Linked DNA regions of Homo sapiens: all the other regions are linked to region 1. Evidence: promoter capture Hi-C in 16 types of primary human blood cells and fetal thymus (Javierre and others, 2016). All regions are on one chromosome and are shown on one strand. The core of a region is centred on a gene start or on the middle of the fragment in contact, and the rest is flanking DNA. Distances in the headings are between cores, read along the strand shown. Region 1 holds the start of KRT14 (keratin 14). Region 2 holds the start of KRT26 (keratin 26). Region 3 overlaps KRT28 (keratin 28). Region 4 holds the start of LOC105371777 (a long non-coding RNA gene). Region 5 overlaps LOC105371776 (a long non-coding RNA gene). Region 6 overlaps KRT25 (keratin 25). Region 7 holds the start of KRT222 (keratin 222).

The links. The method cuts DNA at HindIII sites, captures the fragments that hold promoters and counts their contacts. A CHiCAGO score of 5 or more calls a contact.
Region 2: a contact is called between the fragment with the promoter of KRT26 here and the fragment with the promoter of KRT14 in region 1, in 12 of 17 cell types (endothelial precursors, M2 macrophages, naive CD8 T cells and 9 more). The highest score is 8.2, in endothelial precursors.
Region 3: a contact is called between a fragment that was not itself captured here and the fragment with the promoter of KRT14 in region 1, in 1 of 17 cell types (M1 macrophages). The highest score is 6.4, in M1 macrophages.
Region 4: a contact is called between a fragment that was not itself captured here and the fragment with the promoter of KRT14 in region 1, in 11 of 17 cell types (total B cells, total CD4 T cells, naive CD8 T cells and 8 more). The highest score is 9.8, in total B cells.
Region 5: a fragment that was not itself captured here is called in contact with the fragment with the promoter of KRT14 in region 1 in 2 of 17 cell types (M0 macrophages and M2 macrophages); the score reaches 7.3 in M0 macrophages.
Region 6: a fragment that was not itself captured here is called in contact with the fragment with the promoter of KRT14 in region 1 in 1 of 17 cell types (activated CD4 T cells); the score reaches 5.4 in activated CD4 T cells.
Region 7: the fragment with the promoter of KRT222 here is called in contact with the fragment with the promoter of KRT14 in region 1 in 1 of 17 cell types (M0 macrophages); the score reaches 6.7 in M0 macrophages.

Annotation. Positions count from the first base shown.
Region 1 is chr17:41,585,627-41,588,841 of GRCh38, reverse strand. KRT14 (keratin 14) reads left to right here and starts at 1,947. Exons shown (of 8, transcript NM_000526.5): 1 at 1,947-2,532. The coding sequence starts at 2,008. It overlaps LOC124904003 (a long non-coding RNA gene), which reads right to left and starts at 495. Exons shown (of 2, transcript XR_007065755.1): 1 at 306-495. RefSeq lists an enhancer at 3,044-3,215. The HindIII fragment of the contact is 10,096 bases long and covers 1-2,800 here.
Region 2 is chr17:40,770,124-40,773,783 of GRCh38, reverse strand. KRT26 (keratin 26) reads left to right here and starts at 1,583. Exons shown (of 8, transcript NM_181539.5): 1 at 1,583-2,111; 2 at 2,548-2,630; 3 at 3,375-3,531. The coding sequence starts at 1,671. The HindIII fragment of the contact is 2,390 bases long and covers 1-1,836 here.
Region 3 is chr17:40,793,587-40,796,938 of GRCh38, reverse strand. It overlaps KRT28 (keratin 28), which reads left to right. Exons shown (of 8, transcript NM_181535.3): 5 at 1-23; 6 at 2,893-3,110. Among named protein-coding and RNA genes, the nearest start is that of KRT28, 4.7 kb to the left of the region's middle. The HindIII fragment of the contact is 6,389 bases long and covers 1-3,352 here.
Region 4 is chr17:40,849,852-40,853,434 of GRCh38, reverse strand. LOC105371777 (a long non-coding RNA gene) reads right to left here and starts at 2,637. Exons shown (of 3, transcript XR_934754.3): 1 at 2,575-2,637. The HindIII fragment of the contact is 2,913 bases long and covers 239-3,151 here.
Region 5 is chr17:40,811,220-40,814,546 of GRCh38, reverse strand. LOC105371776 (a long non-coding RNA gene) reads right to left here. Exons shown (of 4, transcript XR_934753.2): 4 at 419-599. Among named protein-coding and RNA genes, the nearest start is that of KRT10-AS1, 6.3 kb to the left of the region's middle. The HindIII fragment of the contact is 4,415 bases long and covers 1-3,327 here.
Region 6 is chr17:40,750,490-40,754,146 of GRCh38, reverse strand. It overlaps KRT25 (keratin 25), which reads left to right. Exons shown (of 8, transcript NM_181534.4): 3 at 131-287; 4 at 2,821-2,982; 5 at 3,068-3,193; 6 at 3,550-3,657. Among named protein-coding and RNA genes, the nearest start is that of KRT25, 3.0 kb to the left of the region's middle. The HindIII fragment of the contact is 2,758 bases long and covers 7-2,764 here.
Region 7 is chr17:40,663,507-40,666,755 of GRCh38, reverse strand. It overlaps KRT222 (keratin 222), which reads left to right and starts at 1,579. Exons shown (of 6, transcript NM_152349.3): 1 at 1,579-1,752. The coding sequence starts at 1,657. The HindIII fragment of the contact is 3,418 bases long and covers 1-2,393 here.

The DNA.
Region 1 (3,215 bases), core at 698-3,197:
TGGTGGTGGTGGTGGGTGGGGGTGGTGGGGCACAGAGGAAGCCGGTACTGGGCTCTGCACCCCATTCCCGCTCCCAGATCCCTCTGGACACAGCATTTTTCTCCAGTGAGCACAGCCTCCCCTTGCCCCACAGCCAACAGCAACATGCCTCCCAACAAAAGCATCTGTCCCTCAGCCAAAACCCCTGTTGCCTCTCTCTGGGGAAATTGTAGGGCTGGGCCAGGGTGGGGGGACCATTCTCTGCAGGGAGATTAGGAGTGTCTGTCAGGGGCGGGTGGAGCGGGGTGGGGCCCTGGCTTACTCACATCCTTGAGAGTCCTTTGCTGGCAGATTTGGGGAGCCCACAGCTCAGATGTCTGTCTCAGCATTGTCTTCCAAGCTCCTAGGCCACAGTAGTGGGGGGCTCCCTTCTCTGGCTTCTTCTTTGGTGACAGTCAAGGTGGGGTTGGGGGTGACAGAGGGTCCTGCTTCTCTTCTAGGAGCAGTTGATCCCAGGAAGAGCATTGGAGCCTCCAGCAGGGGCTGTTGGGGCCTGTCTGAGGAGATAGGATGCGTCAGGCAGCCCCAGACACGATCACATTCCTCTCAACATGCCTGCCGGGGTCTGTGGAGCCTAGGGGCTGATGGGAGGGTGGGGTGGGGGCCGGAAGGGTTTGCTTTGGGAGGTTGTCTGGGAGATTGCTGAAGTTTTGATATACACACCTCCAAAGCAGGACCAAGTGGACTCCTAGAAATGTCCCCTGACCCTTGGGGCTTCAGGAGTCAGGGACCCTCGTGTCCACCTCAGCCTTGCCCTTGGCACAGCCCAGCTCCACTCCAGCCTCTACTCCTCCCCAGAACATCTCCTGGGCCAGTTCCACAAGGGGCTCAAACGAGGGCGCCTGAGCTGCCCACACTAGGGATGTTCTGGGGGTCTGAGAAGATATCTGGGGCTGGAAGAATAAAAGGCCCCCCTAGGCCTGTTCCTGGATGCAGCTCCAGCCACTTTGGGGCTAAGCCTGGGCTATAACAATGCCAACGAGGCTTCTTGCCATACTCGGTTTACAAAACCCTTTCACATACATTGTCGCATTGGATTCTCAGAGCTGACTGCACTAAGCAGAATAGATGGTATGACTCCCACTTTGCAGATGAGAACACTGAGGCTCAGAGAAGTGCCAAGCCCTGGGTCACAGAGGCGTAAATGGCAGAGCCAGGACCCACCTGACTCCAGGCTGTTTCCTGGCCTCCATGAGGCCACCTGCCCTATGGTGTGGTGGATGTGAGATCCTCACCATAGGGAGGAGATTAGGGTCTGTGCTCAGGGCTGGGGAGAGCTGCCTGGATTTCTCTTTGATGGGGATGTTGGGGTGGGAACCACGATACACCTGACTAGCTGGGTGTATTTCAGGGATGGGACAGACTTCTCAGCACAGCATGGGAGGTCAGGCCTGGGAGGGCCCCCCAGACCTCCTTGTCTCTAATAGAGGGTCATGGTGAGGGAGGCCTGTCTGTGCCCAAGGTGACCTTGCCATGCCGGTGCTTTCCAGCCGGGTATCCATCCCCTGCAGCAGCAGGCTTCCTCTACGTGGATGTTAAAGGCCCATTCAGTTCATGGAGAGCTAGCAGGTAACTAGGTTTAAGGTGCAGAGGCCCTGCTCTCTGTCACCCTGGCTAAGCCCAGTGCGCGGGTTCCTGAGGGCTGGGACTCCCAGGGTCCGATGGGAAAGTGTAGCCTGCAGGCCCACACCTCCCCCTGTGAATCACGCCTGGCGGGACAAGAAAGCCCAAAACACTCCAAACAATGAGTTTCCAGTAAAATATGACAGACATGATGAGGCGGATGAGAGGAGGGACCTGGCTGGGAGTTGGCGCTAGCCTGTGGGTGATGAAAGCCAAGGGGAATGGAAAGTGCCAGACCCGCCCCCTACCCACGAGTATAAAGCACTCGCATCCCTTTCCAATTTACCCGAGCACCTTCTCTTCACTCAGCCAACTGCTCGCTCGCTCACCTCCCTCCTCTGCACCATGACCACCTGCAGCCGCCAGTTCACCTCCTCCAGCTCCATGAAGGGCTCCTGCGGCATCGGGGGCGGCATCGGGGGCGGCTCCAGCCGCATCTCCTCCGTCCTGGCCGGAGGGTCCTGCCGCGCCCCCAGCACCTACGGGGGCGGCCTGTCTGTCTCATCCTCCCGCTTCTCCTCTGGGGGAGCCTGCGGGCTGGGGGGCGGCTATGGCGGTGGCTTCAGCAGCAGCAGCAGCAGCTTTGGTAGTGGCTTTGGGGGAGGATATGGTGGTGGCCTTGGTGCTGGCTTGGGTGGTGGCTTTGGTGGTGGCTTTGCTGGTGGTGATGGGCTTCTGGTGGGCAGTGAGAAGGTGACCATGCAGAACCTCAATGACCGCCTGGCCTCCTACCTGGACAAGGTGCGTGCTCTGGAGGAGGCCAACGCCGACCTGGAAGTGAAGATCCGTGACTGGTACCAGAGGCAGCGGCCTGCTGAGATCAAAGACTACAGTCCCTACTTCAAGACCATTGAGGACCTGAGGAACAAGGTGGGTGAATGGGCAGCAGAAGGCACCATTCCAGCTAGCTCCTTCTGGGAACAATTCATGCCCCAGGCCCCTGAGACCTTAAGATTTCTCTATAGGACAGAGTCCACCCCAGATCCCTTCTTTCGAGGTCTTGGATGCCCTAAGACTGATCAGTGAGAAGATGCTTTCCCTTCCCCAGCCTCCTCATCCCCTTCTGATCTCAAATCCTCAGACCATGTGAGATCAGTGATTCCTATCCTTACATTTTTTAGAGGAAGCAGTTGAAGCTTCGAGAGGTGCTGTGACCAGCTGCAGGTCACATAGCAAATTAATGGCAGAGCCAAGGCTGGGGCCCTTGTGCCCTACCTTCCAGCACAGGAGGCAGCTACTTGTTCTCCAGCACAGGGGAGGAGTGAGGCTCTAACGGGACCAGGCAAGACATCCAAACCACTCATTAGCTCACTAGTCTGGGCTGTGGCTGCCGCCGCCCATAAGCCTTGGTACAGGCTGGTCCCTCCCCACAGCCAGGCGGGCATGGAGAGCCTGCAGAGACAATTAGTGTGGTCCCTTGATGTGCCCTGCACAGAGAGAGCCTGGCAGGCTTGTGCCCTGACTCTAGCCCCCTCCTCCCTGCTCCCACATTACTTGGGAGCCCTCCCTGCTGGAGTCTGTTGGGCTCTAATGACTTGCATGGATTAGGGAAA
Region 2 (3,660 bases), core at 334-2,833, 810 kb after region 1:
CTCTCTGTTTTTCTTGTTTTATTTCTGGGAAAAATTAGCAAAAGATTAAAAATTTGACCAGGTCACAACAAAATCAGTAAAAAGTCTCTAAACAGGAACTGTATCTAGGTTATCATGCACTGTTCTAAACATAAGCTGATGGTCCAGTTATAGCTCTGTATTTATTATTTATTTTTAAATATTTTTGATTTAGAAAATCCATGCAGTCCACTAAATGTTCCATACGATTTAGTGACAATAATGTTGGATGTTTTCCAAAGGATTCACTATCCACAACATTGAAAAATATCATTCGGAAGAAAATTACTGTTTCAAAACTAAACCCATAATTAGTTAACCAATCAATTTGTATCATTATAGGTGATAGAGACCCGACCCTGTCTGACATGTCCACTTTATTATAATAATTTAAATAATTAACATTTAAAAATGTTTGTGCCTTTCAAACTGTCTTATCGTCATTCATGATTGGAACTGCTCAACATTCATTTGAGACTCTTTGATGCTATTATTTTCATTTGCCCAGTAGGGAAATGATCCAAGCCTGGATAACTTCCCAAGAGCATCAAGGCAAGAGAATAAAGAGTACTTCCCTGTGACAACTTATCTTCTCTCTAGGGTACTATAAGTACTGGTTTTCTAGGTAATGATGAAAACACCTCCCTCCTTATATATTTTACTCCTTGCTAATCAATATGATGCTCACTTCTCAAAATAATTCCTAATGTCTTAAATACATACATTTAAACTAAAAGACAGTAAACACTATTTAGGGGTAGGGAAGTGAACAATTTGGAGACTGTTAGTTGAATTGATGTCCTGCTCCTGGACCAAACCAAGAAATCTCAATCGAATTAATTCTCCACCATCATCACATATTCATGAATTATATTGAAATTAACAATAAGCAGGACTGCAGGATTTCTATTACTTCAGTTTTCAATTCAAGAAATGGTAGATTTCTTTTAAAATCTCCCACTACCAAAAGATCAATAGATGCTGAGATTTTCTGGTTTTGATAAGAAGGAAAACACACACCCAGACACCCAGGGCAGTGGCTCACACCTGTAATGCTGGCCACAGGAGGCTGAGCTGGGTGCTGAGGCTGAGGATCACTGGAGGCCAGGAGTTCGAGACCAGCCTGGGAAACATAGCGAGACCACATATCTTTAAAAAAAGGAAAAAAGAAAAAGAAACGAAAGGAAGAAAGGAAGCACTCAATGAAGTGGGAATACTAGAAATACTCTATGAGCGTTAACAGGACAAAAGTAGGAGACATTTCTCATTGGAATTATTAATTCTTTGTTATATGTGGCAGGGGGAGAATCTAGATTCTATTAATATTCCAGTGGCCAAAAAGATGCACATTTAGTCATATTTAATTTTGGCCTTTGAGGCTATGATTTAGTTTTACTTCACCTGGCACCATTTTTATATATAAAAAATATCCTTGGGGCACCTTTCCACCTACAGACTGGACGCTGTTAAAAATTACCCAATTGTGAAAAACAACAATTAGGATGCAAGTAAATTTTATTACAGACTGGCATAGTCAAGACTGAAATGACCCAGTGAATACTATAAAAGGCCAAGGGAGCTAACAAGTGTGGAAGGTGAACCCTGGCTTTGCTCCTCTTTCTGGGAAGGGGTTGCCCGGCTGTGCTGCCACCATGTCTTTTCGACTTTCTGGTGGATCCAGGAGGATCTGCTCGCGAACTGGGTCTGGTAGGCTGTCCGGTGGAGGAACAGGCTTCGTGGCTGGGAATGTGTGTGTTGGATCGGGAGCAAGAAGCAGCTTTTCTTGTACTCTTGAGGGCATCTCTTCTGGAGGAAGCTTCTGCAATAGCGGTGGAGGGTTGGGAAGTGGTGCCTGTGCTGGTTTTCTTGGCAATGAGCACAGCCTCCTCTCTGGGAATGAAAAGGTGACCATGCAGAATCTCAACGACCGCCTGGCATCCTACCTGGACCATGTGCATGCTCTAGAGGAGGCCAACGCAGACCTGGAGCAGAAGATCAAGGGCTGGTACGAGAAATGTGAGCCTGGCTCTTCCCGGGAACACGATCATGACTATAGCAGATACTTCTCAGTCATAGAAGATCTTAAAAGGCAGGTAAGAAATAGGGATTTGCATACTTTTACTACAGACTTTGTGTGTTGATAATTTAAAGAAGAGAAAATATAAAATGTGCCTAACAAATTTATGTGATGTAAGATTTGTTCACTCTGTATTTCCAGTGCTAAGCACAGTACCTGGCAATAAAATCTTGTAGAATTAAATAATGAAAAAGAAATCATTTCAAAACAGATATAGTCACTTCGTTTTTCATATATTTAGCTCATACCATTTGATCAAAAGTAGTAAAAGTATCTATGTGGCTCTTAAGCTCTGGATGCTTATTATCTGAAGAAAATCCAGATTTCTTTAACATAGAAAAAAGATACTAAAACAGATGTTTGACAGATTAAGAAGATATAAAATCACACTGAAGTCTGGAGCCTCCTTTGACTTTTGGTAATTAACATTTTTCACAATCTTCCCTATTTAGATTATTTCTGCGACCATCTGCAATGCCAGCATTGTTCTACAAAATGACAATGCCAGACTGACCGCTGATGACTTCAGGCTGAAGTAGGTGAAAACAAACTGATTAATTATATTAATAAAAGTTAAAATATTACAATTGGATTAAGGAATATATATTTTGCTTTGAAAACCAAAATGTTTTTCTAAAGCCAGACTAGATCAATAAAGAAATTGAATTAAATAAGCCGTTATAAAAAGAGCTATCATGGTTGGATAGAGTAGCTCATGCCTGTAATCCCAGCACCTTGGGAGGCTGAGGCAGGCAGATCACTTGAGGTCAGGAGTTTGAGACCAGCCTGGCCAATGTGGCAAGACCCCGTCTCTACTAAAAGTACACACACAAAAAAATAGTCAGGCATGGTGGCTCACTCCTGTAATCCCAGCTACTTGGGAGGCTGAGACATGAGAATCACTTGAACCCGGAAGGTGGAGGTTGCAGTGAGCTGAGATGGGGCCACTGCACTTCAGTCTGGGTGACAGAGTGAGACTGTCTCAAAAACAAACAACAAAAAAGAGCAATCACATATTTTTTAAAATCTAAAATCTAGCAATATTTTATTTAATTGTTAAGCACATTGGATGACAAAAATCAGCTCTGAAGAAATAACATCCCCAAAATACAATTCATGAATTGTTAGGTATCTCAAACCATTTTAGCAGTTTGCCATTGCAAGAAGCTTCAGAGGTATGTACAGAACATCATATCTTTCAGCATATGAAATACCTTAAAAAGTTGTGCTTTGCACCTGCCTACGATGACAACTCTCAGGTGCCTTACTAATCTTTCAGGTATGAAAATGAGCTGGCTCTGCACCACAGTGTTGAGGCCGACACCAGTGGTCTTCGCAGAGTGTTGGATGAACTGACCCTTTGTACAACCGACCTGGAGATACAGTGTGAGACCCTCAGTGAGGAATTGACCTACCTCAAAAAAAGTCATGAGGAGGTAAGGAAGCCTGCAGAGTGGCTTCATACAGTTTCTAATTTCCTTCTTGAAGTCCACTGTTCATTTCGTAGCAGGGCATGAACATCAATCAAAATCCTCCACTGAGGATGAATACCGATCCCTTTTCTA
Region 3 (3,352 bases), core at 662-3,161, 790 kb after region 1:
AGCTGCAGTCCCTGATGGCCACGGTAGGTGACAGCGAAGGTCAGCCTGGATCCTGTGATTCTAGAAAGCCTCCGAGAAACACTTCCCTCTGCCCTTCCTTCTTTTTTCCTATTATACCTTTGCCTGCAAATACTTAGCAGAGAGAGTGGAGGAGAGCAGGAAAAAACAGATGCATAGACACTCAAAAGAGAGCTTTTTCTTCCTCCTTGACATCACTGGGAGTTTCCTTCCTGGCTGATGCTTAGTGCTCATTTCATGAAAATAGACATTTCACATAGATCCTTTCTCAGGGTAATTCAGCTTAGGTCCGCAAAACAAACAGCAGCAATATTGCTGCACCAGAAAATTAGCCACAGGTCTATGATCAGGGGTGTGGGGCTAGTGTCCCACAGGGCAGGGAGCCAGCATCACACCAGCATCTCCTGATACTGATGAAGACATATTAGAAGCCACATGTGGTTTCACCAGGCAGAGGAAGAGAGGGTACACACCTGAATGCCACATGGGCACTGTCAGGCTCTTCATCGCCACAGAGTCCAGGGCAGAGGTCAAATCCCGGAGGGCACACCTGGGAGCCAGGCCTTCAGCCACTTGGGCATACCACCAGCTCCTGGCTTACTTCAAAGGTCAGCATGGCGTCAACCCAGGATTAAAAATGGCTTCCCTTCTAGAGTGTGAGCTGGCAGTGCCCAAAAGGCTTGACTTTGAGAATTACGGCATGCACATGGCCTAAGGACTCCCTTCCCCATAAGAGGTTTCGTGCCTCCTGAGGACACCAGGTTGTAACACAAAGAAGAGAGCAGCTGTTACCCAAGTGAGTGCAGTGAGCCAAAAAGGAAAAGATGACTCAAAACAACGGGAGATTCTTTTGATTTAGCCGCCCTCTAAAGGTGTGTGCTTTCTCCCTATATCGGATTTAGATGGGAGACTTGTTTTTACACTGACTGGCCCCTAACTTAACCAGGATGGCCCTCTTCTCCTCTCCCTCATCACTGCTGCTAGCAGGTACCCGAGACACCCCTGCCACTGTGGGCTCCTGGAACCTTCCTTTCTTCTCCATTTCCCTTCTTCCCTGAACTAGATCCCTGAGGACTCTGTTCCTGCTGCAGGAGCTGTGTGAGTGAATCCTCCCTCTATTTCTGAGCTACGCTGATGGAAATACATTTTCGAGTCCCCAGACCAGAATTGTGAGCATTTTCACATAGAAACAAGGATGTTATAAAGTAGTTAGAGTCTGTGCAGCCAGTGGTACTATAATTTGGGCTCATAGGATAATCCACACATAAAAAGCCCACTTAACACAGGACATAACTGAATTCTAGAATAATGGGAGCATAGTACCTAACTTACATCCCTGAGGCCCTGTTGTCTTATGAATTCTAAGCTCAATCTCCTAGAGTTAGAACACAAGTCATTTGTAAGTTGGGAGTTGTCTAAATACACAAATGTTCACGTTTGCTTCCTGTGATGTACAAACTTTCAAGTTCATCCTGTTCTCCTCCCTCTTTGACAAGCCAGCCTTCACGGTGGAAGACTGTGAAGTAGAGACGCTGTCCTCTCTGACTTATGAGTGTATTAGCAATCATAAAAAGGAATACCCTAGGAGGACGCATTACCAGGGAAATTAAAGTTTTGAGCTGCCGAGCACACGCCTCACTGGCGTCTTGCTACCTGTTGCCTTACTCTCCGCATTACCATCCTGATCTCCTTCCACTTACCTGCTCCTGGAGAGCCCAGCACCCTCCATGTAACACGTCTGTTTGCCTAAGTCAGTAGCTCTAAGTCAGTGTTAGGTTCTCAGCCCCATTAGACCCAATGTCTGCCCGTTAAGACAAATATTGTGTAATTCCTTCTTTGCAATGCTAGAATGAAGTCACTAGGTAATAGATTTAGAAATATACAAAATTATTTTTTAAAGTATAATACCATAAATGCAATAAAAAGGCAAGTATTTTAAGATAAAATGTATTTACTAGGTAAATACTTGGGCCTAACTACCCTAGAAAATGTAATGAAAGAGGCAGAGCCTTGCATCTTCTCTTAATAAATCTTTCATTTTCAACCATGTAAGATCAGAAGTTCCTCCACACAAGAAAAGGAAAATGAAAGAGTGGAAGTTGGGGTGGACACTTGGATAATAACTAATATCAACAGAAGTAATAATTGCCCAGACATATTTATCTATAATAAGGGAAAGAGGAAAATTACCTTAATTAAAGGAGGCAGCAGGTGCCAAGACAAATTACAGACTGTAGAAGTAGCAAAGAGGAAGTATGATATTCATAAGAGTAGTGTCGAAATAATGACCTGTATTGTGTTATGAGATATAGCTCTTGCCTTGAAATCTCACATCTGTTAAGGCACTCATTCAATCTCAGGTACCTTAATAAAAGACCTTTGATAGAGGCTAGAAAATCAAGGATGGATTAGAGAAAAAAAAAGCAGTAGCACAAAAGGCCATGGAACACTAGCGGAGTGGATCTGCGGGGACAGTAGCAGAGTAAGATGGAAACAACAGGTAACCCTGAAATAAATATATAATTTCAAAATACAAGTTTTCCCATATCGATTTTTTATTCTGCTACCCTTAAAAGGTGCTTTAATATATCAGTTGGTTTTAATAGAAATATGACCTATATATCATCAATGTCCAGTGGAACATCAAAAGTCTTGTGGGAAAAGGGCCATTTATCCCGGGTCAGGATCCCACGTCCATCATGCCTGGCCCTCACTTCATAAATGCCAGCCTCCTTTCTTTCCCATTTGATTGTGACAAGCCTCACAAATTTCCACAATTGCCCAGGGAGCAATCCTGCTGATTACTGAGAAACAATGTTCTACTAGTCCTCAGAGTGTTTTCATCCCTTGCCACGGCTTCTTTGATGTCCTCAGAAACACTCCCTGGAGTGCTCCTTGACAGAGACCGAGAGCAACTACTGTACGCAGCTGGCGCAGATCCAGGCTCAGATCGGGGCCCTGGAGGAGCAGCTGCACCAGGTCAGAACCGAGACCGAGGGCCAGAAGCTGGAGTATGAGCATCTCCTCGATGTCAAGGTCCACTTGGAAAAAGAAATTGAGACCTACTGCCGCCTGATAGATGGAGATGGAAAGTAAGTAAAGCCATTTGAAAATCCAGTTTTTACCTCTTTTAAGCTACAAATGTGGGCTGCCCATTAGCCTTCCATACTTCCAAGCCTTTTCTTTTTCATTCCCACTGCAGAAAAGCATGTCCATCTCTTGTTTTTTTGGAAGAGAGTCATCTCTTCCAAATCCTGTTCATCACAGTGTTCTCCTCTGCATTAGATGACTGGAAATGTTCCTGCAGCCATTCCCATCTGTTGTCCATGTTAAT
Region 4 (3,583 bases), core at 446-2,945, 740 kb after region 1:
GTTCCACAGTAATTCAGGATCCGTTTAAGCAATTCTTAAACAAAAGCCTCATGGTTCTAACATTAGAATTTCTATCTACAGGAACAATGGGGATGCAAATGGTCAGAATCTAAGGTTATGTGATGTTTAGTTACAAGGAAGTGGGTCAAAGTGCAGCCTGGTTAAAGCTTAATTATAACTACATTTCTGCCCAGAATTCTTAATTCTGTGAGGATGGCTTCAATTCCTTCAACAAGCTTTTATTTAGCACCAACTATATGTAAGACTCTACATAGTCTATTGAAAATAACCTCAGTTTTTATGATCTAAAGGCAAATACATGATAAAGTTTCATACAGTTTTTACATTGTATATTACAATTTACATTGGATAAAAAGTACCTCCCAAGGTGCTTTACGGTGTTTTCACTGGATACCCATTTTAAACAGCCTTATGTGCTGATTCTGGATGATAATTTTAATGTTAAACTTCCCTAGCCTATCTAATATATGACTGAGTAGGCTGACAAATAATAAAATAAATGTTTATCATTTAAAAAATACAAATATATATAATCAGCATCCAATAGAGATAATCCTGGAACAAAAATTAGTACTACAGAATTAGATCCAGGCTAATCAGAATCCAGCAGTGGTGTTATAGGAAAGCACAACAATGAAGTCCTTCTCAGTGTTATTACTCAGAGGCTAGGGGTAAGAAAAAGTCCTTCAGGTGATGTGAAGTTAGGAGAATTTTACTCAGTTCCCCTGTGTGACTATGGAAGGTGTTTTTACAGCTTGCAGAGCTGAAGGAGATAGAACTGAACGCTGGCCAGTGGGAAGACAAGAACTGCTCAAGGGAAAGGAAGGTCTCAGTAGGGAGGAGAACCTGATGAAAGTTTTAGTCATCATTATCATGATTATCTGTCACCTCCAGGGTACACAGGTAACAGTTGCATTAAAGAGGAGATCATTTCTGAGGAGCTAAAGGACAATATAATATTATAACACCAAAGACACAAAGCTGAAGTAGCAGGTTACACAATTATTTGCCAATTTGTCCACAGGGAGACTTTTTAGCTGCACTTTCCAAAGCATTGGCACTCTGAAAACTTAATCATATAAAACTACATTCCCAACATGTAGAATATGTATCATAAAACACTTGCTATACACATATATCCAAACATCTTATGTCCTTATGATAATTTATCTCTGAACTAAAAATCTATTTAGGATCACTATGGATCATTTAAATTATGTTTCATTTTGTCAGAAAAAAAAATCAAATAATAAAGCATTATTTTAACTGGCTTTTACCTTTCAGTTAAATTGAACTTTAACTAAACAATCAAAGAAAAATTATTCCTCTATCAATGTTGATCTAAAAATCTTTCAATTGTAGCTTTTTAACTAGGTCAAGCTCCAAGTCTCCTGACCCTAGATTTATTTATTCATTCATTCAACAGATACCTATACATATCCTGGCCATATCTGGTATTTTGCCTCCTCATCCAAGCCACTATTTATGTCTCTCTCCTGGCTGACCACACAGCTTCCACCTGTACCCACCTCTCTTCCACTCTTTCCACCAGAGCTGGGGGGATCATTTTGAAAAAGCTGATCCAGTCACTCCATTGCTTAAAGGCCTTCAAAGGCTTCCTATTGTCCTTGGAATAAAGACCAAAACCCAGCAAGGTATGGCCTGGCCTGGCCCCCTCTACCCTCTTTCAAATCGTGTGCCCTCTCTCCCCCTCTATCTTCTCCAAACCTACTGGTCTTGTTTACTTTATTTTTGTATATATTTAAGATATACAGCATATGAGGTTTTGATATACATATACTGAGTGACAGCAATACTACAGTCAAGTAAATTCTAACGCCATGCTCCTTCCCACTCTGGCAGCTTCTCACAAACTTTCCCTCTTTACCTAGAATGAGCCTCCACCCCCATTTTGGCCTAGTTAACAATCCTAGTCACCAGTTAGGTCCTAACTCAAATGCCCCTCATTAACCAAGTCAGGTTCTCCTATTCTACCTTCTCATACTATACTGTAGTTATCCTTCACAGCTCTTAGCGCAATTTGCAATTATACATTTATTTGTATGAATATTGAAATAATGTCTGGCTCTACCACTGCATTCTCTCTAAGGGCAGCGGCCATGTCTGTTTTGCCCTCCACTGTAGCCCTGGCATCTAGCACAGTGCATAAAACAGCACATATACCCTACTGCATAGGAGACAATCAATACTTGTTGAATACCTGTGCACAGAATTACGTACAAATGCTAGAATATTCACTCAGTAAAAGCTGGAATAATGCCTGTATTACTCTCCTGGGCTCAAGCAATCTGTCCACCTCAGCCTCCCAAAGTTCTTGGATTACAGGTATAAGCCACTGTGCTTGACCACCTGTATTACTCTCTAGGTACCATTAAAAGCACTCAATAAACACTGGTTGCACAAACATTGAATGGTGGCGATATATTTCTTCTATTATTTTCTTGAAATAGTCATTGAATTTTTATCCACTGATTTATTAACTCTAAATTTTCCAACACTTATCTTTGGAAAGACTGAATGAACAAACCCTACCTTATTAAGGCGCAGAAGCTAAGGAGTGTCCATCACAAAGGAAGCAAAGAGGATGGTTTGCATAGATTCCATTTGAATCTATTTGTTTTGGTTACTCTATTTAAAATATGCTTGCGTCATATGAAATTGAATTCCACTTACTTCCTTCTCCTTAAATCTTAATAAAGGAATTAGGCTGGCTGTTTGAGACTAAAAAATCCATCAAGAAGTTGTTTGCATTTTACTGAGATATTTGTTGAATTCAATATTTCCAGAAAACCCTCAAGATACTTGTCACTCTATAGGGACACAAAATTTTCTTATCTAATATGTACAATCTTTAACTTGACAATTTCACAAGGCATATTGATATAAATCATATTGCTCAATATCTGGTGACTCAGTAGAAAGTGATCTTCAGTTTCAACAAGCAGTCTTTTAATTCATGACGCTTTTTCTTAAGGAAATTAACCTGAGGACTTTTTCCCATACATCTAAAGAGTACTAGAAGTTGCTTTCAAAACATAGAGTAACTTGGTTTCCATGTAGTATTTATAAGAAAAAAAAATCTGTAGATATTCACTTATAAAGGCAAGCTTGGAATCCTCTAATTCGTCATTAAAGTGTGCTTTGTATGTAGGCAATCGCCTAACCATAGATACAAAACTGAGTTATCTTAAAATGGCTGATGGAACACTGGCTTTCCATGAAAATATTCAGTCTGAAAATGTAATACTCCTGCCAATCTAGATCAAAATAGAACTTGTTCTCCCTTAATAACGAGGTGTTCTATCTAAAAAACATTGTGCTCTCTCTCTTTGGTGGTCTAGCAGTTAGGAATAAAAATTAAAAATAAGTAAAATACACTTTTCTCTCAATCAAACTAATATTTACTGGTCACTATGGAAGCAAATGGGAGCGGACTAGTCAGGTATGCAAATAACCTTGCCTCGCCAGGTATAAAGTGACCTGCCACAGAAGTTTGGAAAAGGGAGGTAATATAAAGGGCTGGGATATGAGGACCACTCTT
Region 5 (3,327 bases), core at 28-2,527, 770 kb after region 1:
CCAGCATTTGTTGTTTCCTGACTTTTTAATGACCGCCATTCTAACTGGTGTGAGATGGTATCTCATTGTGGTTTTGATTTGCATTTCTCTGATGACCAGTGATGTTGAGCATTTTTTCATATGTCTGTTGGCTGCATAAACGTCTTCTTTTGAGAAGTCTGTTCATTTCCTTTGTCCACTTTTTGATGGGGTTGTTTTTTTCTTGTAAATTTGTTTAAGTTCTTTGTAGATTCTGGATATTAGCCCTTTGTCAGATGGGTAGATTGCAAAAATTTTCTCCCTTTCTGTAGGTTGCCTGTTCACCATGATGATAGTTTCTTTTGCTGTGCAGAAGCTCTTTAGTTTAATTAGATCCCATTTGTCAATTTTGGCTTTTGTTGCCATTGCTTTTGGTTTTTCAGTCATGAAGTCTTTGCCCATGCCTGTGTCCTGAATGGTATTGCCTAGGTTTTCCACTTTTTCTTTTTTTCACAGCACTGTTTCCAACTTACTATACAATGTATTCATTATTAGTCATCCTTTTCCCCTGCTAGACGGTACACTCCAGAAAGACAACGCTTGATCTTCGTCTACTTTATCCATTCATGTATCCTGAGGCACTAGAACAGTGACTAACACAGGTTAGGTACCAAAAATATCGTTTTTGAAGGAATGAACTCTATGACATATATACTATTATTATCTCCATTTTACAGATGAAGAAACTGAAGCACAATTTAATTCATCACTGGAACTAAGAGTGTAGGAAATGATTATATATAAATGGACATTAGTGTATGATAAAGGAAGAATCTAAACCCTAAGAAAGTAAGGTTTATTCAGTAAATGATAAACTATTAAACCCATAACAAACATACTAGAAATAATCCAAATGAGTGTCTTAAACATCCATATAAGTAGTAAAAAAAAAGCAGAAAAAAATGTGTAATCACATTTTTTAAATTTTGAAATAATTATAGACTCGTTGGAAATTGCAAAAATAGTAGAGTCCAGTGTACTCCTGACTCACCTTCCCCAAATAGAGACATCTTCTATAGGCTAGGGTATAATATCTAAAATTTAAAAATTGGCATTGGTACATCACTGTTTAACTACAGAGCTTACTCAGTTTTTGTTTTTCCTAACCTGCATGTGTATTCACAAAATACAAATCTTATAAAGGACTGGCATATAGAATATAAATATAAAAAACTATAACTCAATAACAAGAAAAAACCACAAACCAAAAAAAAATTGTGTGTCTGTGCAATTGTACCCCATGTATAGGTACAATTTTTGTACCACCACCCAAATCAAGATACAGAACCATTTCATAACCACAAAAGAACTCCTTCATGCTACCTTTTTGTATTCACATGTGTACCTCAACACTCCCTTCCCAGTTCCTGGCCCCTGGCAACTACTAATCTCCATCTCTATAGTTTTACCATTTAGAGAATGCTATATAAGTGTAATCACACAGTATGTAACCTTTTGAGACTGAACATTTGTGTACACGTTTTGGTGTGAACATACATTTTCATTTCTCTGGGTTATATGTCCAAGCATATAATTGCTAGGTCATATGGTAGGTGCATGTTCAGTTTTGTAAGAAACCGCCAAACTGTTGTCCAGAGAAGCTGTACCATTTTATATTGCCACCAGCAATAAATGGGAGAGCAAATTTTTCTGCATCCTCATCAGTATTTGGCATTATCAGTATTTTTCTAATAGGTATGTACTTATAGCTCACTGAAGTTTAATTTGCATTTCCCTAATGGAAAATATGCTGAATAGCTTTTCTTTTTATTTTCTTTTTTTTCTCTCTCTTTTTTCTTGTTTTGAGACAGAGACTTTCTCTGGCGCCCAGGCTGGAGTGCAGTGGAGCAATCTCAGCTCACCGCAACCTCTGCCTCCCAAGTTCAAGTGATTTTCCTACCTCAGCCTCCTGAGTAGCTGGGATTACAGGCATGCGCCACCATGCCCAGCTAATTTTTGTATTTTTAGTAGAGATGAGGTCTCACCATGTCAGCCAGGCTGGTCTCAAACTCCTGACCTCAGGTGATCCACCCACTTCAGCCTCCCAAAGTGTTGGGATTACAGGCGTGAGCCACTGTGTCTGGCCTGAACAGCTTTTCATGTGGCTATTTGCCATCCGTATCTCCTCTTTGGTGAAACATCTGCTCATGTATTTTGATCATTATATAGCCCATTTGTATTTCATTGTGTTCTTTTCACTTAGGATTACTTTGGCTATTCATGATCTTCATCGGTCCCATATGAATGTTAGAATAGTTTCTTCTAGTTCTGTGAAAAATTACATTGGTGATTTGATAGGAATAGCATTGAACCTGTAGTTCGTTTTGGGCAGTATGGTCATTTTAACAATATTGACCCAATATCATTATTCACCCAATCCATGAGCATATGATGTTTTTCCATTTGTTTGTGTCATCTATTGAAAGTCACCGTCAAAATAATTTTAAAAAGCCAAAGACTGGGAGAAAATAGTCACAAAAATACAAATCTTATAAAGGACTGGCATATAGAATATAAATATAAAAAACTACAACTCAATAACAAGAAAAAAACCACAAACCAATTAAAAAATGGACAAAAGATTTGAACTGATACTTTATCAAAGAAGAGATACAAATGGCAAATAAGCACACAAAGAAGATGCTTGACATCATTAGACATTAGGGAAATACAAATTCTAAACATACCACTATACAACTATTAGAATGACTCAAAAAAAATTTTTTGATGGACAATACCAAGTGCAAGTAGGGATTCTGAGCAACTGGAACCCTCATATATTGCTAGTGGGAATGCAAAATTATAGTTTGGCAGTTTGTCATCGTGTTAAACATAGACTTAACATACAATCTAGCAATCTCACTCATAGACATTTATCCAACTGAAATAAAAATATCTACATAAAGACCTATGAGGAAAATTTAGAGCAGCTTTATTCATAATCATGAAATCTGAAAATAGCCCAAATGCCCATAAACTAGTGAATGGAAAAAAATATGGTACACCCATATATGAAATGCTACAAAAGAAACAGACCACATTACATCTTGAAATTCAAAAGCATTATGCTAAGTGAAAGATGCTAGACTCAGAAGGCTATATGTTATAGCTCATTGATATGAAATTCAAGGAAAAGTCAAACTAGAGAGCTAAAAACAGATCAGAGATTGTCAGAGGGTAAAGGGAGTGTGTTTACCACAAAGAGGTACAAGAGGATTTTTTGGAATGATGGAAGTATTCTCATATTCTCTGTTTTGTTTATGGTGGCCATTGTACAACTGAATTTGTTTGTCAAAATTAATTGAACTA
Region 6 (3,657 bases), core at 136-2,635, 830 kb after region 1:
CAAGCTTTGAAAATGCCTCTTGTGGCCAAATCTTCAAAATTCCAGAATGCTAGCATTTGTCATTGATCAGTGACTAGTGACTATGTCTCCAACCATGTGACAAATTAGGAAATCATTAACACTCTTTAAGGTATGAAAATGAGCTGGCTCTTCACCAGAGTGTAGAGGCTGATGTCAATGGGTTACGAAGAGTTTTGGATGAAATAACCCTGTGCAGAACAGATCTGGAGATTCAGTATGAAACCCTGAGTGAGGAGATGACTTACCTCAAAAAGAACCATAAAGAGGTAAGAGCTGGTCGTCTACATTTTGCTATCCCTCCGCAGACACTGTGCACCTGACAGGAGATAATGTACATAACCTCTCATATAAAAAGTTGGTGCTGAAGACACATTGTCAGACAGACATGAGGGCTGAGCTGTCTTTTTTTTTTTTTTTTTTTTTTTTTTTTTTTTTTTTTTTTGAGACGGAGTCTCGCTCTGCCGTCCAGGCTGAAGTGCAATGGTGCGATCTTGGCTCACTGCAAGCTCCGCCTCCTGGGTTCACGGCATTCTCCTGCCTCAGCCTCCCGAGTAGCTGGGACTACAGGCGCCCGGCTAATTTTATGTATTTTTAGTAGAGACGGGGTTTCACTGTGTAAGCCAGGATGGTCTCGATCTCCTGACCTCGTGATCCACCTGCCTCAGCCTCCCAAAGTGCTGGGATTACAGGCGTGAGCCACCGCACCCGGCCTGAGCTGTCTTTTTAAGTGTCAGATTCTTTGTACAGATTCACCCTTGCTCTCTCATCAAGTTTCCTATGGGGAAAAAAAAAAACGAATCATGTTTTCCAGACCAATCAGGGTTATAAGAGCAGTGTTTGGCTGTGTAATTATAACTAAGTTAAAATGATCCGCTTTGGACATTAAGTCTAATTAGATAAAATAAATATAAAATAAATATACTTTAAGGCCATCCTTAAACTAGAAAACTAGATCTCAATTTCTAAATGACAGTGGCAGATTTAAAACACTAAAACATTTACTTCATACACACATTAAGTATACATACTTAACGCTAGTACATATTCTTAATAGGTCTGGCTGTAAAAATAATGAGCATGAAGTTAAACTATTATACCAGAATTTACACTTAATCATAAACTTCCAAAGTGGTCACTGTTGGAAGCTAAGTTCCAAATTTTATATTGCAGCAATTACATCTTTAGGATTGCTTTCAGAGGCACTGTTTTCCAAAAGGGAAAAATCTTTATCCTTTGAAAATAAATTTGATATTTTAAATAGCCAAAAGACTTCTATGGTCAAGCCAAATGCTTAAAACAGAAGATCAAGCTAAGAATCCTACTTGATTAGTCATGAGGCTGTCTTATAAATATAACTACTTGAATAACATTGATTTGACTACGTGGATTCAAATATAGTTACAGCCCATGGTGTTTAATCAATTTTTGATGAATCAAAAGCAATTGATTTTTGTAATGCCTCATTTACAGGCAACCCTAGATATAGATATAGATATAGATATATAGATATAGATGATATACATATATCTTTTTTTATCTTTTTCTTTTTATGCTTGAACCAGGAAGTTTTCACTAAATCCTCAGAAGTAAAAGCCACATCTGTAGATCAGGAAGACATAGTTTCAACCAGGAGGAAAGAAGGCTGGAATGGCTGAGGGGCTCGCTGCAGGGAGGAATGAAAGCCTTAGTTACCATCATTAAGACCAATTCATGAATGGGGAGGAGAGTTTCTGCAGCAGACATAAGCTGATGGGTGGTATTCCAATATACACAGTCTTCGCAGCGATGCCTACCATTCACAATCTTAGAACTGACTCACACATTCTAACAGCTTGCAGTTCAGACAGGGTAACATGTAGACTTTGACTGCAAAATAAATTCCAGCTTCCATGATGATAATAATCATAATAACCAGCATTCATTTAGCATTTATGTGCAAGGCAGTATCACGGAGTCTTATTATTATTATTAGTTCTTTGACTTCTTTTAACAACTCAGAGAAGGGTTTTTAATTATCCTCAATTTTCAGATAAGCAAATAGAAACGTAAAAAGGTTAAGCAACTTTCCCAAACTCACTAGCCACTATAGGGCAGAACCAAAATTCAGAGAGATCTGCGTGACTCCAAAGTCCAACATGATACTGTAATGTCCCTGTATAGACTTAATAGACAGCTGGGATTCTTTAGGGGATGATGTTCTTCCCTGAGGGGTACACACACACACACACACACACACACACACGCACGCACACACACACACACACACATACATTTATTTATTTATCATCATTTCAATTGTTCAGAATTATTCATACTCAACCCTTCAACCATGTTCATGGCTGTGCTCAGGGTGTAGCTGAGTTAACACTGCACCAAAGCTGGCCTCTAGTGGAAGGAAGACCAGTCCACAAAGGCCGAGAATAGAATAAGCGATGGAGGACCATTCATTTTAAATGTTTAAAACTTTCATATGGAAAAGGAATTAAGATGCATTCTGAGTAGTAGAACTGAAACTGATGAGTTTAAGTTATAAGAGCAGGAGTTTGGCTCACTATAATAAAGAACTCTGGAACAATTAAAACTCTCCCAGAATGAAACAGGCTACTTCATAAGGTAGTGAGTTCACCGTCTTTGAGAATTAGGTCAACGGGACAGGAAGTATCAAATGTGGTGGGAGGGGGTCAATGCACAGCCTGGGAGGGGAAAACCAGACGAACTCTAAGTGCCCTTCCAAAGCTAAGCTTCTAGACTTTCCATGAGATTCCTGCAGAGCTGAGCAGAACACTTTTCTGCCTCTAGGAAATGCAAGTTCTGCAGTGCGCAGCTGGAGGCAACGTGAACGTGGAGATGAACGCAGCCCCCGGGGTGGACCTCACAGTTCTGCTGAACAACATGCGAGCTGAGTACGAAGCCCTTGCAGAGCAGAACCGCAGGGACGCGGAGGCCTGGTTCAACGAGAAGGTGACTCTCCTCCAGAAAACGGTCCCTTTGCATGTTACTGGTATTCACAAAACTAAGATTTGCTCCTTCACTTATGTCATTTCAGAGCGCCTCCCTGCAGCAGCAGATCTCTGAGGATGTCGGAGCCACAACCTCAGCCCGGAATGAGCTGACTGAAATGAAGCGCACTCTTCAAACCCTGGAAATTGAACTTCAGTCTCTCCTAGCCACGGTATGAAAAGAACAATTTTTTTTCACCATCTCCCAGGTCATCATGTTAGATACTTGCCAGCTGGTTTTAAAAACCTTAACAATATTGAAATATATTTGTTTATAATTGTCTCAAAACATAAGGAAAGAATAGGATTGTATAGCTGACACCTAAAACTACACGAATGTCTTTAGGTTTATTCTACTAAAAAGAAGGATTTGCTCATTTTCAAGCAGTATCACAGAGTCTTAACTATGTGTCCATGTGAAATCTGAAACAATTATATGTAAAGTTAACAGCAGGAGAAAATCATGTATCAAAGAAATCCCTGCATATCTGCATATCCATTTCAAGTTCTCTTTATTGCTTCCTGACAGAAACACTCCCTGGAGTGCTCCTTGACAGAGACCGAGAGCAACTACTGTGCGCAGCTGGCGCAGATCCAGGCTCAGATCGGGGCCCTGGAGGAGCAGCTGCACCAGGTC
Region 7 (3,249 bases), core at 330-2,829, 920 kb after region 1:
AGCTACCTAAAGTAGCAGGAAGCATTTAATTCATTGCTCCCTGAATTTAATTTAGGAATTTAATTCATTGCTTTCTTCTCTCTCCTCCACTCCCAAGCCTAATTCTCTTCATATTTCTCAGTCCCAGTTACCAAGAAAGAGAATCAGTTTGGCCTAGATAATCATTAATGACTCTCTTTAGTCAGAGCTTTCTGTCTCAGCCTACTCCAAAGGTCTCTGACCAATCTATAGATAATCAAGTTGTGACTGATGGGGAAGGTGCAGGAGGTAGGGAGGGGTGGGTCAGAAATAACCTGGAACCTCTCCTCTCACCAGGAGCTGTGGGTAGGACAGCTTTGTTTGGAGAGGGCTGTGAGAATGCCCAGCATAGACTGGCCTGGCCAGATGTGAGTTAATTCAGAAATTAAAAGAGCAGGACATGCATGCAAAGGCCCTGTAAGGGCTAGAACCCAGGTCTGATTATCTCCTGAACTGTGCTCCAGATACAATTCAGCCAAAGCCACTCCACAAATAACAATAATGATAGATCCACTCTCACGACATATTTCTGTCACATCTAGCAACCAGCTGGCAAGATTAAACCAGGAATTTAGAAGGGGAGAGAGAGAACGCAGAGGCAGATATGCAGGGGTAATACATGGAACACAAGCAAGTTGTCAAAGAGCCAGTCCCAGTGATGTCATACATCACTGAGCAACCTTGGGCAAGATGCCTCAACCTCTCTGGCCTCAGTCTTTTCATCTTTACAGGTTAGAAAATGTCAGGGATTGCAAGGATTGGATGGAATGATACGCCAAATACACCCTCCGAAGGGCTCAAGTGATTGCAACGATTGGATGGAATGGTACACTGACTACACCCTCCAAAGGACTCAAGGGTTCTTTTGGTGAATACACCAAAAGGTCTATTTCTTCATCCTTGTTAAAACTTTGGAAATGTTAACTCACAACTCTCATAGTCTACCAGCACTTATCTGCAACATTTTGAGAAAACTAAATATAATTTTCTTTTTTTTTTTTTTTTTTTTTTTTGGAGATGGAGTCTCACTCTGTCACCCAGGCTGGAGTGCAGTGGCTCAATCTCGGCTCACTGCAACCTCCACCTCCTGGGTTCAAGCAATTCTCCTGCCTCAGCCTCCCGAGTAGCTGGGATTACAGGCACCCACCACCACGCCCAGCTAATTTTTGTATTTTTAGTAAAGACAGGGTTTCATCATGTTGGCCAGGCTGATCTCGAACTCCCGACCTCAGGTGATCCACCCACCTCAACCTCCTAAAGTGCTGGGATTACAGGCATGAGCCACCATGCCCGGCAATTTTCTTATGTTATGCCCCATTTCCTTTTCACAAAAATGAACTCCCCCTCCCCTCAAAGTGCTCAATTTTTACAGGGAACCAGTACAGGTTTTTGAAATTTTCCTTTCCTTCATGAAGAATCTGACATTTCTACTATACCAATAACAATAGGAGCAAAGAGTTTACCCTGTATTTGCATAATTAGTTAGAAAGATGAGAATTTCCGTGGCCTCCGAAAAAGGAGCTCTGCATCTTTAAAACTCTGCGAGGCTCCCTGCCTTCCGCGCAGACCGAGCAGACTGCCGCAGCGACTCATCCTATCGATAAGGTTCAGTTAGCCAAGGTGGAGGATGGGAAAAGAATGGAACTGTCCCAGCTACTCAATGAGATCAGGGCAAACTATGAAAAGATCCTCACCAGAAATCAGATAGAGACGGTGCTCTCAACAAGGATCCAGGTAATGATTTCATACAGACAGGCACCTTCCAGAATAAGGAGACAGTCCATGTCTACCCAATTCCTGTCCCGGCCTCTCTGAGGTACAGTATTTCCTTTTCGATGCAGCATCTATTGGGGAAGGAATTTAGCTTCTACTGCAGTGTGACTGGGACTACAGGGGGAAATACTGTGATTATATTGTTAAATTGCCATTAAGTAAGTGTTGATTGATGCATTTGATTTTTATATAAATTGTGAGGTTCCTATCATTAACATGGGGTCAACATACCATAAAATGGTGCACTCTAACCTCTTACAATCTTCAGGAAGGAACCATTCCAAATACCCTTCAAAGATATTATTGGAGTTATTTACAGAGATAATTTAAATAACATCTTTAAAATGAAAAATCTTTAAGTAAGATTTATTAGCATGTACACTTTCTAGAGATATTTCTAAAAGGTTTCTATCATCTTTTTAACGAGTTCCATTTTATACCAGATTGTTATAAATAGAAATCATCTGAGTGTGTGAACATGGCATTCAGAAACAATGATATAAATTATGACCATTGAAATTCCCCAAATTGGTAACGATTCTCCACTAAGATTTTTGCTTCTGTACTATAAGATGAGAAACATTTCTTTCCATTACAAAGCTTGTAATATTTAAGTATTTAAAAAAGAGAAAGAGAGCCTACTTAGATAAGGACTAAATCCTAATTTCATAGACTTAGTTTTAAAGTAACAATCACCTTCAGCAAGTAATTAAGGTCTCAAGTCTTTAAACAAATTTACAAACAAATATTTTAGAAACAAAGATTAAGAAATTTAGGGGATTTTTTAGTTTACCTATCATATATGGGTTCAAGTTATCTTCCAAACCCTGAAATACAGCAAAAAGTTTACTTAAGAATATCACCCAAAATTTTAAAAAAAAAAATTGGTAGAAAAATGTCAGGCCTTTATTCCATTAGCCACTCATTTTTAGTTCCATTGTAAATTTCACCTCTAGATAACATTTTCAGCCTTCATAAAGAATGATCAACATCTTAGATTAAGCAAAGTCACTGGTACAGGTAAGCATTGGGATAGTTCATTCACCTTTACAAACAGAAGAAAAAAATCAATAGATGACAACTTCTAAAAATCATAAACAAAACACTTAACTTTGCAGTAGTAGAAATATGAGTTTAGTTTACAAGTCACAGGGCCAAAATGAGTAAATTCAAATGAAAAAGCAAGACTACGGTGAGTTTTGTTTAAAGTGTCTTTTAATTTGAAACTACTTTAGAGGATTTTCTTCCAAATAACTCAGAAAGTCAGCTGAAATAAATTCAAGACAGCCTGATTAGTTATTTTTTTAAATTTCTAAATAAGCTATTTTAGTTACAGATTGTTGTATAACACCCCAAAACTCATCTGGGACCTCAATCGTCTTGGGGCATGACTGGGCTCACTTATGTGTCTGGCACTTTGGCAGGGCATTGCCGAAAGGCTGGCTCTGCTGGGACTTT